Regions from separate parts of the Homo sapiens genome. Here region 1 is linked to region 2. Evidence: promoter capture Hi-C in 16 types of primary human blood cells and fetal thymus (Javierre and others, 2016). All regions are on one chromosome and are shown on one strand. The core of a region is centred on a gene start or on the middle of the fragment in contact, and the rest is flanking DNA. Distances in the headings are between cores, read along the strand shown.

The links. The method cuts DNA at HindIII sites, captures the fragments that hold promoters and counts their contacts. A CHiCAGO score of 5 or more calls a contact.
Region 1: a contact is called between a fragment that was not itself captured here and the fragment with the promoter of MLEC in region 2, in 2 of 17 cell types (M2 macrophages and naive B cells). The highest score is 9.0, in M2 macrophages.

What each region holds. Positions count from the first base shown.
Region 1 is chr12:120,955,315-120,960,769 of GRCh38, forward strand. No RefSeq gene overlaps it. Among named protein-coding and RNA genes, the nearest start is that of HNF1A-AS1, 14 kb to the right of the region's middle. The HindIII fragment of the contact is 7,737 bases long and covers 1-5,455 here.
Region 2 is chr12:120,685,113-120,690,707 of GRCh38, forward strand. MLEC (malectin) reads left to right here and starts at 2,037. Exons shown (of 5, transcript NM_014730.4): 1 at 2,037-2,419. The coding sequence starts at 2,185. LOC105370029 (a long non-coding RNA gene) reads right to left here and starts at 2,037. Exons shown (of 3, transcript XR_945449.3): 1 at 1,742-2,037. RefSeq lists silencers at 1-41, 1,156-1,255, 2,096-2,395 and enhancers at 1,416-1,525, 1,616-1,745, 1,840-2,341. The HindIII fragment of the contact is 12,504 bases long and covers 1-4,237 here.

The DNA.
Region 1 (5,455 bases), core at 2,448-4,947, 270 kb after region 2:
TGCTGGCCCTGGGACCACACTTTGAGATCCAATGAGCTTAGTCAGTGCTGCTAATTCCATCCCCATTTGCCAGTGATTGACTGGGCCTAAGCCAGTGGACCAACGAGATGCAAGGCGGGGCTTACTCTGGGCTGATGAGGGTGAGCAGCTCCTCCTTCTCCCCAGAGGAGACAAAGGTGCCTGAGTGAGTGGTGGCAGCCACTTTGTGACCATGAGGGGAATCAGCCTTCACAGAAGCTGATGCTGTAGACTGAGAAAACCTAGACTCCTAATAACATATACCATCAAGCCCACCCAACTTTGGGATTTTTTTTTTTTTTTAATTCTGGGGAAACTTTTATTTTTATTTCTAGACCAATTGACTATGGGATAGGAAAGAAAGTGAGGTGTCAAGGATAAAGCCAATATTTGACTCAAACAATGTAGAGGATGTTTGTTTTTAGCTTACTTGAGGAAGGCTGTGGTCGGGGAGAAGATTGAGAATTCTTTTTTTTTTTTGAGACAGGGTCTCACTCTGTTGCCCAGGCTGGAGTGCAGTGGTGCCATCCTAGCTCACTGCAGCCTCGACCTCCCAAACTCAAACAATCCTCCCACTTCAGCCTCCTGAGTAGCCAGGATTATAGGCAGATGCCACCATGCCTGGCTAATTTTTTCATTTCCAGTAGAAATGAGATCTCACTATGTTGCCTGGGCTAGTCTCAAATTGGGCTCAAATGATCCTCCCACCTTAGCCTCCCAAAGTGCTGGGATTATAGGCGTGAGCCACTGCACCTGGCCAAAGATTAATTCTGATCAATGCTAAGGACTTTCCACTCTTTACAACTTTAACTTTGTTTTGGTTGTTTCAAGAGCTACATTTGATTCGATTCGTTTTGTTTTGAGATGGAGTCTCACTCTGTCGCCCAGGCTGGAGTGCAGCGGTGCAATCCCACTGCAACCTCTGACCCCCGAGTTCAAGGGATTCTCCTGCCTCAGCCTCCTGAGTAGCTGGGACTACAGGCACCCACCACCACGCCTGGCTAATTTTTGTATTTTTAGTAGAGATGGGGTTTCACCATGTTCGCCAGGCTGGTCTCAAACTCCTGAACTCAGGTGATCTGTCCACCTCGGCCTCCCAAAGTGCTAGGATTACAGGCATGTGCCACCGCACCTGGCCTAAGAGCTACATTTTTTATCGCAGTCTCAGCCTTTTCATTTCCCCATATCCCACTCATTCCTATAAGGGCCAAATGCAATAAAACAGATGTGTATGTGCACTCACGCTGTGGAGTGAAGATGCAAATGACTGTGATGATCCAAACCCTGGCAGGAAGGTGGCAGCCCCGTAGGGCATGGGGATCAGAGGTAACTCCACTGTGTGTGCCTTCCGCTGTGTGTGCCCTCCACTGTGTGTGCCCTCCGCTGTGTGTGCCCTCCACTGTGTGTGCCCTCCACTGTGTCTGTCCTCCGCTGTGTGTGCCCTCCACTGTGTGTGCCCTCTGCTCCGCTGTGTCCACAGTGACAGCATAGATTATCCCAGGGCTCAATCAGTTGTTCCAGCTAACTTCCTGCTAAACAGAGCTGGTCACCAGGAGCCAGGCTGACACCTTTGAACCCCTTCTTCCCCTCTGCCTCCTTTCTCAGAAAATATAAAGTGCAAAATGGTCCAGAGGTGGACAGTGTGGGGAGGGAGGGGACATTGAGTCTTGATGACCTGCAAATTTACACCAGTTTCTGCATAATCCTATATGGGCTTTATCTGATCTTAGAGGCACCCATCCCTTTGCAATAAAAGATTGCATCTGTTTTTATTTCCCCTTTCTGTTGGAAGCTGATAAGCCAAGAATGTACTCTCCCCACCTGCTCTCAGCTTTGATTCCCATTAACACAGGGGCATTCCCAGGAAAGGGTTGGGCTCCCCAAGGTGTTTGCTGGAGAACCTGCTGTCACTCTGCAGAGATGTACAAGTATTTACTGAAAGAAGAACTTCTCCAGGAATATTGTGTAAGCAGATTACACCGGATCTCCCTGCCCTTGGACAAATATATATGGTGAAGCTCAAAGAGGGGAATCCAATGCACAGAAACCTCCATGCTTAAAAAATATCTTGTGGCCGGGCACGGTGGCTCACGCCTGTAATGCCAGCACTTTGGGAGGCTGAGATGGGAGGATCACTTGAGCCCAGGAGTTCGAAACCAGCCTGGGCAACATAGGGAGACCCCCATCTCTACAAAAAATGAAAAAAGTTAGCCAGGCATGGTGGTGCACACCTGTAGTCCCAGCTACTAGGGAGGCTGAGGTGGGAGGATCACTTGAGCCTGGGAGTTTGAGGCTGCAGTGAGATATGATCATGTCACTGCACTCCTGCCCGGGCGACAGAGTGAGACTCTGTCTCAAAAAACAAACAAAAAACCAAACCAAAACAAAACAGAACTTGTGAATTGGTTTGGGGATTGCTGGTAAGAGACAAAGGGATGATCATCAAGTCTGGGGATGCCCATCCATTGCCACATCCCCAAGGGGATCACACCAGCTGGAGCACATCACTGCACGTCGCATTTTTGTTTTGTTTTGTTTTGAGACGGAGTCTCACTCTGTCTCCCAGGCTGGAGTGCAGTGGCGCCATCTCAGCTCATTGCAACCTCCACCTCCCGGGTTCAAGCAATTCTCCTGTCTCAGTCTCCCGAGTAGCTGGGATTACAGGCATGCGCCACCACACCCTGCTAAATTTTTTTGGAATTTTTAGTAGAGACAGAGTTTCACCATATTGGCCAGGCTGGTCTTGAACTCCTGGCCTCAGGTGATCCTCCCACCTCAGCCTCCCAACGTGCTGGGATTACAGGCGTGAGCACTGCACCCGGCCCTTTTTTTTTTTTTTGAGATGGAGTCTCACGCTGTTGCCCAGGCTGGAGTGCACTGGTGTGATCTCGGCTCACTGCAACCTCTGCCTCCTGGGTTCAAGTGATTCTCCTGCCTCAGCCTCCTGAGTAGCTAGGATTACAGGCACATGCCACCACGCCTGGCTACTTTTTGCATTTTGAGGCAGGGTTTCACCATGTTGGCCAGGCTGGTCTTGAACTCCTGACCTTAAGGCCCGCCTCAGCCTCCCAAAGTGCTGGGATTACAGGCGTGAGCCACCGCGCCCCGCCTTGCACATTGCATTTCTAGAGACTAGAGGCCTCAAATTAAGGTGTCGGTAAGGCTTGGCCCCCTCTCAAACTTGGGGGAGAGGGGAGATTCCACTCTTGCCCTTTCCAACGTCTCACGTCTCTGGTAATCCTTGGCAATCTTTGGCTTGCTGCTGCAGCACTCCACGGTGTACCTCTATTGTCCTAAGGTGTTCTCTGTGTGTGTGTCCAACTTTGGATTTTTGTTTTTATTAATTTTCTTTTCTTTTTTTCTTTTTTTTTTTTTTGACGAAGTTTCACTCTTGTTGCCCAGGCTGGAGTACAATGGCATGATCTCGGCTCACCACAACCTCCACCTCCCGGGTTCAAGCAATTCTCCTGCCTCAGCCTCCCAAGTAGCTGGGATTACAGGCATGTGCCATCATGCCCAGCTACTTTTTTTGTATTTTTAGCAGAGACAGGGTTTCTCCATGTTGATCAGGCTGTTCTTGAACTCCCGATCTCAGGTGATCCACCTGTCTCGGCCTCCCAAAGTGCTGGGCTTACAGGTGTGAGCCACCGGGCCCGCTGTTTTCATTAATTTTCATTTGAAGACATCCTGATACCTAGTCAAAGCCTCATGACTTTGGGGGCTGAGAGGACAGGGTGGTGGTGGATGTATAGTTGGCGGGGTGTGGTGGTGCACACCTGTAGTCCCAGCTACAGGAGGATTGCTTGAGCCCAGGAGGTCGAGGCTGCAGCAAGCCATGAGTGTGTCACTGTACTCCAGCCTGGGCGACAGAATGAAACCCTGTCTCTTAAAAAAAAAAAAAGAAAAAAAAAGGATGTACAGTAGGAGGATTATCTTTGCCTTCAGTTGCTGGGAGGTGATCTCTAGGCCCCTTAACGTCCTGTCTGATGGAAGTGTCTGTGTTTGCCTGGGGCCTTTGGCCACCAGATAGTCTAACAATGTGATCTGTAATGAAGGCTTTGGAACATCCTGTATCAGTTCCAACCTCCAGATGAGCTGGATACACAAGAGTTAGCTCAGGAGAGACTGGAGATGAAAGGTCAGCCACACTGGCAGTAAGGGATCAAGCCCCACTAAAAAACGCTGGACACTGGCTGGCAGTGGCTCATGCCTGTAATCCCAGCACTTCAGGAGGCTGAGGGGGGCGGGTCACCAGATGTCAGGAGTTTGAGATCAGCCTGGCCAACATGGTGAAACCCTGTCTCTACTAAAAATACAAAATCAGCTGGGCATGGTGCATGCCTGTAATCCCAGCTACTCGTACTCTGGAGGCTGAGGCGGGAGAATCGCTTGAACCCAGGAGGTGGAGGTTGCAGTGAACTGAGATCACGCAACAGCACTCCAGCCTGGGCGACGAGAGCGAGACTCCATCTCAGAAACAACAACAACAAAAACAAAACCCCCAAAAACGCTGGACACCAAAGCCTCAGGAGCTTCTCTGGTTAGCAGTATTCTCTGAGTGTCATCACGCATCATAGCTGGGGGGAGGTGACTGTCTGGAGAGAAGGTAACTAGGAGCTTTGCACTTGAACCCCTTCCGCACCTCACCCTCTATGTCCTTTCTTGTGGCTGGTTCTGATCTGTGTCTGTTTGCTATCATAAAAACTGTCGTTATGAGGCGGGGCACTTTCCTGAGTTCCATGAGTCATTCTAGTGAATTATTGAACCACAGGGGGTAGTGGGAACCCTCAATGCAGCCAAGCGGTCAGAAGTGAGGGTGGCCCAGGAATCCCCAGTTGCACCTGGCATTTGAAGTGAAGGCTGCCTTGTGGAGGGACTGTGTCCTTAGCCTTGAGCTTGACAAATTCATTGCAGTAGGTTCTGTCATCTGCCTCTTAGAGAATACCCTCATTTCAACTGGGCGCGGTGGCTCACGCCTGTAATCCCAGCACTTTGGGAGGCCGAGGCGGGCGGATCACGAGGTCAGGAGATCGAGACCATCCTGGCTAACACGGTGAAACCCCGTCTCTACTAAAAATGCAAAAAATTAGCTGGGCGTGGTGGCGGGCGCCTGTAGTCCCAGCTACTCAGGAGGCTGAGGCAGGAGAATGGCGTGAACCCGGGAGGTGGAGCTTGCAGTGAGCCGAGATCGCGCCACTGCACTCCAGCCTGGGCGATAGAGCGAGACTCCATCTCAGAAAAAAAAAAAAAAAAGAGAATACCCTCATTTCCTTGCAATTTGGGACAGGTGTTAGGAGCCTCATTTTATTCTTCTGAAATCAAATTATCCCTGATTCAGACTTCAGGTAAGGTGGCATTCAAATGCAGTCGTGACTCAGGGCTTACTATTTCTATTCTTCTAAAAAGACTATGGGATTCTCATGTAGGTGGAAATGCT
Region 2 (5,595 bases), core at 787-3,286:
AGGAAGCCCCATCACCACTACTTGTGTTTCTGTTCCCCATTTGCACCACACCCCTCCTTTGAGGGTAACTGAAGCCTCTGAGTTGTCAAGATCCTTAAAAGATGACAGTTTGAGAGAGAGAATAGTAGAATTAGAAACCCCAAGAGGCCAGGTGTGGTGGCTCACACCTGTAATCCCAGCACTTTGGGAGGCCGCGGACCCCGAGGTCAGGAGATCGAGATCATCCTGGCCAACATGGTGAAACTCGGTCTCTAATAAAAATAAAAAAAACTAGTTGGGTGTGGTGGCGCGCGCCTGTAGTCCCAGCTACTCAGGAGGCTGAGGCAGCAGAATCGCCTAAACCCGGGAGGTGGAGGTTGCCATGAGCCGAGATTGCACCACTGCACTCCAGCCTGGCGACAGAGCAAGACTCTGTCTCCAAAAAAGACAGAAAAAAAAAAAAAAAGAAACACCTTGGACAGGAAACATGTCTATGGGAGGAAGTAAGGCCAGATGCTTGCAAAATAGGGGGGAAAGTGAGACCGGGAGGGAACACTTCCAAAAGTTACCCCCATGGGGTCTGAATTTGGGGCCTGGGAAGGAATTTGGGTGCATTTAGATCCACCACTGATAGTCTCTATTTTGGCACCCTGTTTTGTTCCCGTATAGCACTTACCACTGTTCTAACTAAACAATTAATTTCATTATGGGTTGTGCAAAGTCTATGATTCTCATGCGGGACCCCAGGTGTGTTTTTTGTTCATGTAGCACAAAGCTCATTGCCTAAGTAGTAGGTAGGATTGGTAGATAAAATACAAGAAGTCCAGTTGTTTAAATTTTAATAAACAATGCATTTTTTTTTTTAGTATAAGTGGGTCCCATTTGCTTATCTGAAATTCAAATATAACTGGGCTTCTCCTATTTTATCTGCCAAATCTGACAACCCTGGTAGCAGGGACTTGATACATTTTTTTCCTTTTAGGGAGAATTTCTAAATCGACCAGTATTTATGGAAAATGCATAAGCGTTTTTTTGTTTTTTTTGTTTTTGCCTTGACTCTGCCCTACACTTGCGGTGCGACCCTTTGGCAAAATTCAGTCCCTTTCTATGCCTCAGTTTCCCCATCGGAAAAATGGGAGTTTGAACAGCGACCGAAGCGCAGGGATCGCCAGTGTGGGAGAGCGCCAGGTGAACTGTGAAGGAGCAGGGAGGGAGTTCGGGCCGTGCCCGTGCGGGACAACCCCGGTATCCACTCTGGGCACCGCCGGCGGCGACTCCCGCCAGCGCCTAGGGTGCCTCGGTCCCGCCCCTACGCAGCGGAGGCCGGCCAGAGGCCGTCGCCATGGAGACGCGAGCAGCCTGGCACCCACTCGCTCTCAAAGCCACGCGTTTCCGCTGCGTTGGAGCCTTCTCATTGGACGGCCGTCTGGACGCTACCACCCGCCCCGAGCCCGCTAAGGGGAGGGGGCGGGGCCTTATTCTCATGGGATTCGTTCCCTGGAGACCTGTGTCCGCGGCCTCTCTGGGAAAGCATGGGTCCTCTCCCTCACGCGGGGAAAAGGACTGCGTCTCTTAGGTCTGGAGAGTGTCCATTGCTTCTCCTACTAGAATTTATGCTCATGCTGCTCCCTGAGAAAAGAAGAGGGGGCGGGAAAGTCGGCCACGCCCCCTCCAGAGCCTATTTGGTCTCAGGAGCTAGAGCACCGGAAGTGCTGGCGACATGTCAGTGCGCCCTACCCTAAACCTTCCCCCCCCAGGCCACCTTTCCCATTCAGCTGTGGGATTCCGGGGCCGCCTGGGCGCTGCACCCGCCACTTCCGCATCGAACCGCCGCTTCAACCGAACTCACTCCCTCTGCGCGCGCTCCATCTGGTGCCCGACTGCTGGGCCGGCGCCTGGGAGAAGCCACGCCCTTTCCCGCGCCTGACAGCCAATGAGCGGGCGCCTCCCGGCGGGGTGGTGGGTAATTAATGAGGGCCGGGCGCTGATTGGCTGCAGCGTCGTGGCCGGGGGCAGGGCGGCGGGGTAGGTTGTTCCTGAGGTGGGAGGCGGTACCCGTGGCTGAGAAGAAGGAGGCCTGAGAGCGACATGTCCCCGGCGGCTCAGGCGGAGCGGCCCGTGGCGCTGTTTTTCTGAGTCCGGGGTGGCCTGGCAGCCGGCCGAGGACGAGGGTCGGCGGGGGCTGCCCCCGTGGTGGTGGCCGCCATGCTGGGAGCCTGGGCGGTTGAGGGAACCGCTGTGGCGCTCCTGCGACTGCTGCTGCTGCTGCTGCCGCCGGCGATCCGGGGACCCGGGCTCGGCGTGGCCGGCGTGGCCGGCGCGGCGGGGGCCGGGCTGCCCGAGAGCGTCATTTGGGCGGTCAACGCGGGTGGAGAGGCGCATGTGGACGTGCACGGGATCCACTTCCGCAAGGACCCTTTGGAAGGCCGGGTGGGCCGAGGTGAGAGTCCCCCTGCCGAGCCGCGGGATCCAGGGCCTGCTGTGCTGGGCGCAGCCGGCCGGGGGCTGCGGGCCCCGAGCCCCTTTCGACCCTGGGGCCGCGTCTCTGGAGCGAAGTTTCTCTCTGCAGCTTCTTCGGGGGCCCGCTCTGAGCTCAGGGCCTGGCACTGGCTCCAAGGTACCTAGAGTCATACAGGCAGAGAGTTGGCCAGAAGTTAGTTATATTTGGATTTCTCATCCTGCATTTTCTCAACCCCTCACTCCCATCCAAGCTGGGAGAGAAATGACGAAGGCGGCCTTTTGCTACCTCCAGGCCTCGCGGGTTGTAGGTCATGGGTGCCCCTGCTTCTCCTGTCGAGACAGTTCTTGGGAGATTCTCGTCGACCCAGGAATCGGCCGCTTTCCTTGCCCCTTCTGCAGGAGCGGGGCTTGATTCTTAGCCAGAATAGGAAGGAATCTTCGAAGAGAATGGGCCAGGAAAGTTTGATTGTAGCCTCCTCCCCCGCCCTCTTTTCGAGCGAAGAATATGTGTGCTTAAAAGTAGAATCGGCAGGCCGCCCCCAGAGGGTGGTTCTATCGAAGCCATCCTGCACGTGAGGCTGGTGGCTGTGTGTGAACTGGGTCAACCAGTGTAAGAATCCGAATGGTCTATCAGAGAATGCTTACAACCTCCCCTAGGTGATCCTGAGAGTTCTAATTCCAGCTTAGGGGGAAAATGATTGTGACTTAACTTGCTGGGCAACAGTGGTTTTTAACGGAGCTGCTCCCTTCCCAAAGTTAGTGTGTGTCAGAATTGCCAGGGCAGCTGGTTAAAAATGCAGATTCCTAGTCCCCACTCGAAATTGATTATAGTAGATTGAGCTTTTTTGCTGGGATCCAGGTTTCTGCACCAGGGGCTTGTGATGTAGGTTGCCCCGAGACCACCGTTTTGGAAGATCAGCTTTATAATCTTTGTTTCTTCTGTTGGAGGGATTGGAAAACAGGTTTCAGAAGGAAGTTCTTTGCTAGGAGATTGATACTGTATGCTGGGTTCAGAGGCTACCAAATTGGCAGTATGCCACCTCCAGACAACCAGGAGACAGACTCACTCTTCACTTTCTCTCATTCTTTTTCTGCGATGCCCAGATTTGGCTCTTGCTTTTACTAAAATAGTTAGTTCTTCCCAAGTCGATTGCAGTGTCCTGGAGTTTGTTATATTAAGGAGTTTATTGCCTTTCACACATGTGAGGGTCTTGGGACACAGGGCTGTTTTGTGAAGTTCTATGTTTGTCTTGGAGTTTGTTGAGCCCTGGCATGTAGATCACAGTAGCCTGGGTTCAGCTGACTCAGGGCTCCAGTCTTTAGCAGCGGTAACAGCAGCCAAAGCCAGACTTTATAGCAGGAGGTCATTACTATCTCTATCCTGGACCCTTCCTCTTTCTTCACGAGTGTGGGCAGGGAGGAAAGAGCCCTTGAGGAAACTAGACAGTTTGTGGACTTTGCCTCTTGAGATAGCGGTGGTGAGGGTGCTGAGCGGATGGTTTCTTTCACTTAGCAGATACCAGGCCTTACATTGGTTACATCGTCCTATTCAGTCTGTTGTGCAGAGAATAAAGCCGAGTAAGACCACACAGGTTTAGTTCCCAGATACTGCCCTTATTCAGAAATTCTGGTTTTAATTTGCTGATGCAGGTGGTGTGTGTGTGTGTGTGTGTGTGTGTGTGTTTCTTTGGCTTGGTCAGCAGTCAGCCAAGATCTGTGTCCTTGGGTTATTGGCTCATGGTTGCAGTTCCTTGGAAGGAGTTTATTGTAGCAGGTAAAATTACATGAGACCTACCAAAGCTTGTGTGTACTGGAGTCCTATTTCGGACACTGGCCCTTGGGGCATTGTATAAATGAAGGTTCCCTGCTAAGGTTCCCCTCTCCATTCTACCAATCTGGGTAAGAATTGGAGCAGTATTAAGGCATGGATGGGGAGTGGGAGGTGGCGCTTGTCAGCTGCAGTTTGGACCAGCTTGTTGCAACATTGCGCTTACCAGGTTCCTGAGAAAGGCATTTTGCTGGCTTTAGGTCGGGCTGAGATGCGCATAAGCTTGCACTCTCAGGAGGCAGCTCTCTACTAAGGAGTCAGTCCTACCAAGGGAAGTCCAGCTGTTCACACTGCCTTTCTTCTGGGCCTGTTTGGATAAGGGTGTGCCAGGTATTTGAAGACCCTTGCCTCGTGCAGCTATTTACACTGATTGCAGTAGGAACTGTATGCCTTATTTCTTTTCCCGCCTGCCTGTGATATTGTTTCCAGCATGCTGAGAAAAGTTGATTTTATGTTGAATGAATTCAGGTATTTGTTACCAAGTTAGTCCAGATAAGGGTTTGGCCTTCTTTTGAACTTGCTGTTTCTGTGTAGTTTCTTTGTAGTTCAACATTCTTGTAATTGTGAGTGGCCCAGGGCACCTAGTGGTTTATGCTTTCAAAAGCAGTTCAGAATATTTATTGAATTTCATTTCTGCCTTGAGGATAGCTAGTGCTTACAGCCTGGGAAAGGCTTTTTCAGCCTGTGTGCTTCCACAGATGGGAGCACCACTACAGAAAGTGGTTTAGAAGCGTTCACCTTGGGGTTTTGGTATGAGGCACATTCCAGGGTTTTTATTTATTTATTGAAAATTTTTAATTTTTTTTTTATTGTAGACACAGGGGTCTCACTATGTTGCCCAGGCTGGTCTTGAACTTCTGTCCTCAAGTGATCTTCCCACCTTGGCCTCCCAAACTGCTGGGATTACAGGCATGAACCATCACGCCTGACCATGTTCCAGATTTGTAACTTGGTCATTTTGAGTTCCTCTTCACTCTGACTAGGAAAAGACCTGGTTATTTGACCTGAGGGCACAGAATTTTGCTTGAGTTTAGGGAAGGCTATTTCCTCTTCAGAGAAAGATACCTGCTAAAGTCGCAGGTCCTCGAGAAACTTGCTTTACGTCTCTGAGCCTTGTTTTCCTTTTCAAAAAATCTCTCATGCTTTAGAAATTTCTGATAAGACTGTAAACTCTCCTGTCCAGAGTAGCTTGAAGTGTCTCTGTCACTTTTTTTTTCCTTGATGACCTTTTACATGGAATTAAAAATAGGGCAGAACATAGCTCCAGAGGGGAAAAAAGTTGGTTGGGGACCAGAGCCTATCAGGTTGCTAATGCTGTAACCTTAAGG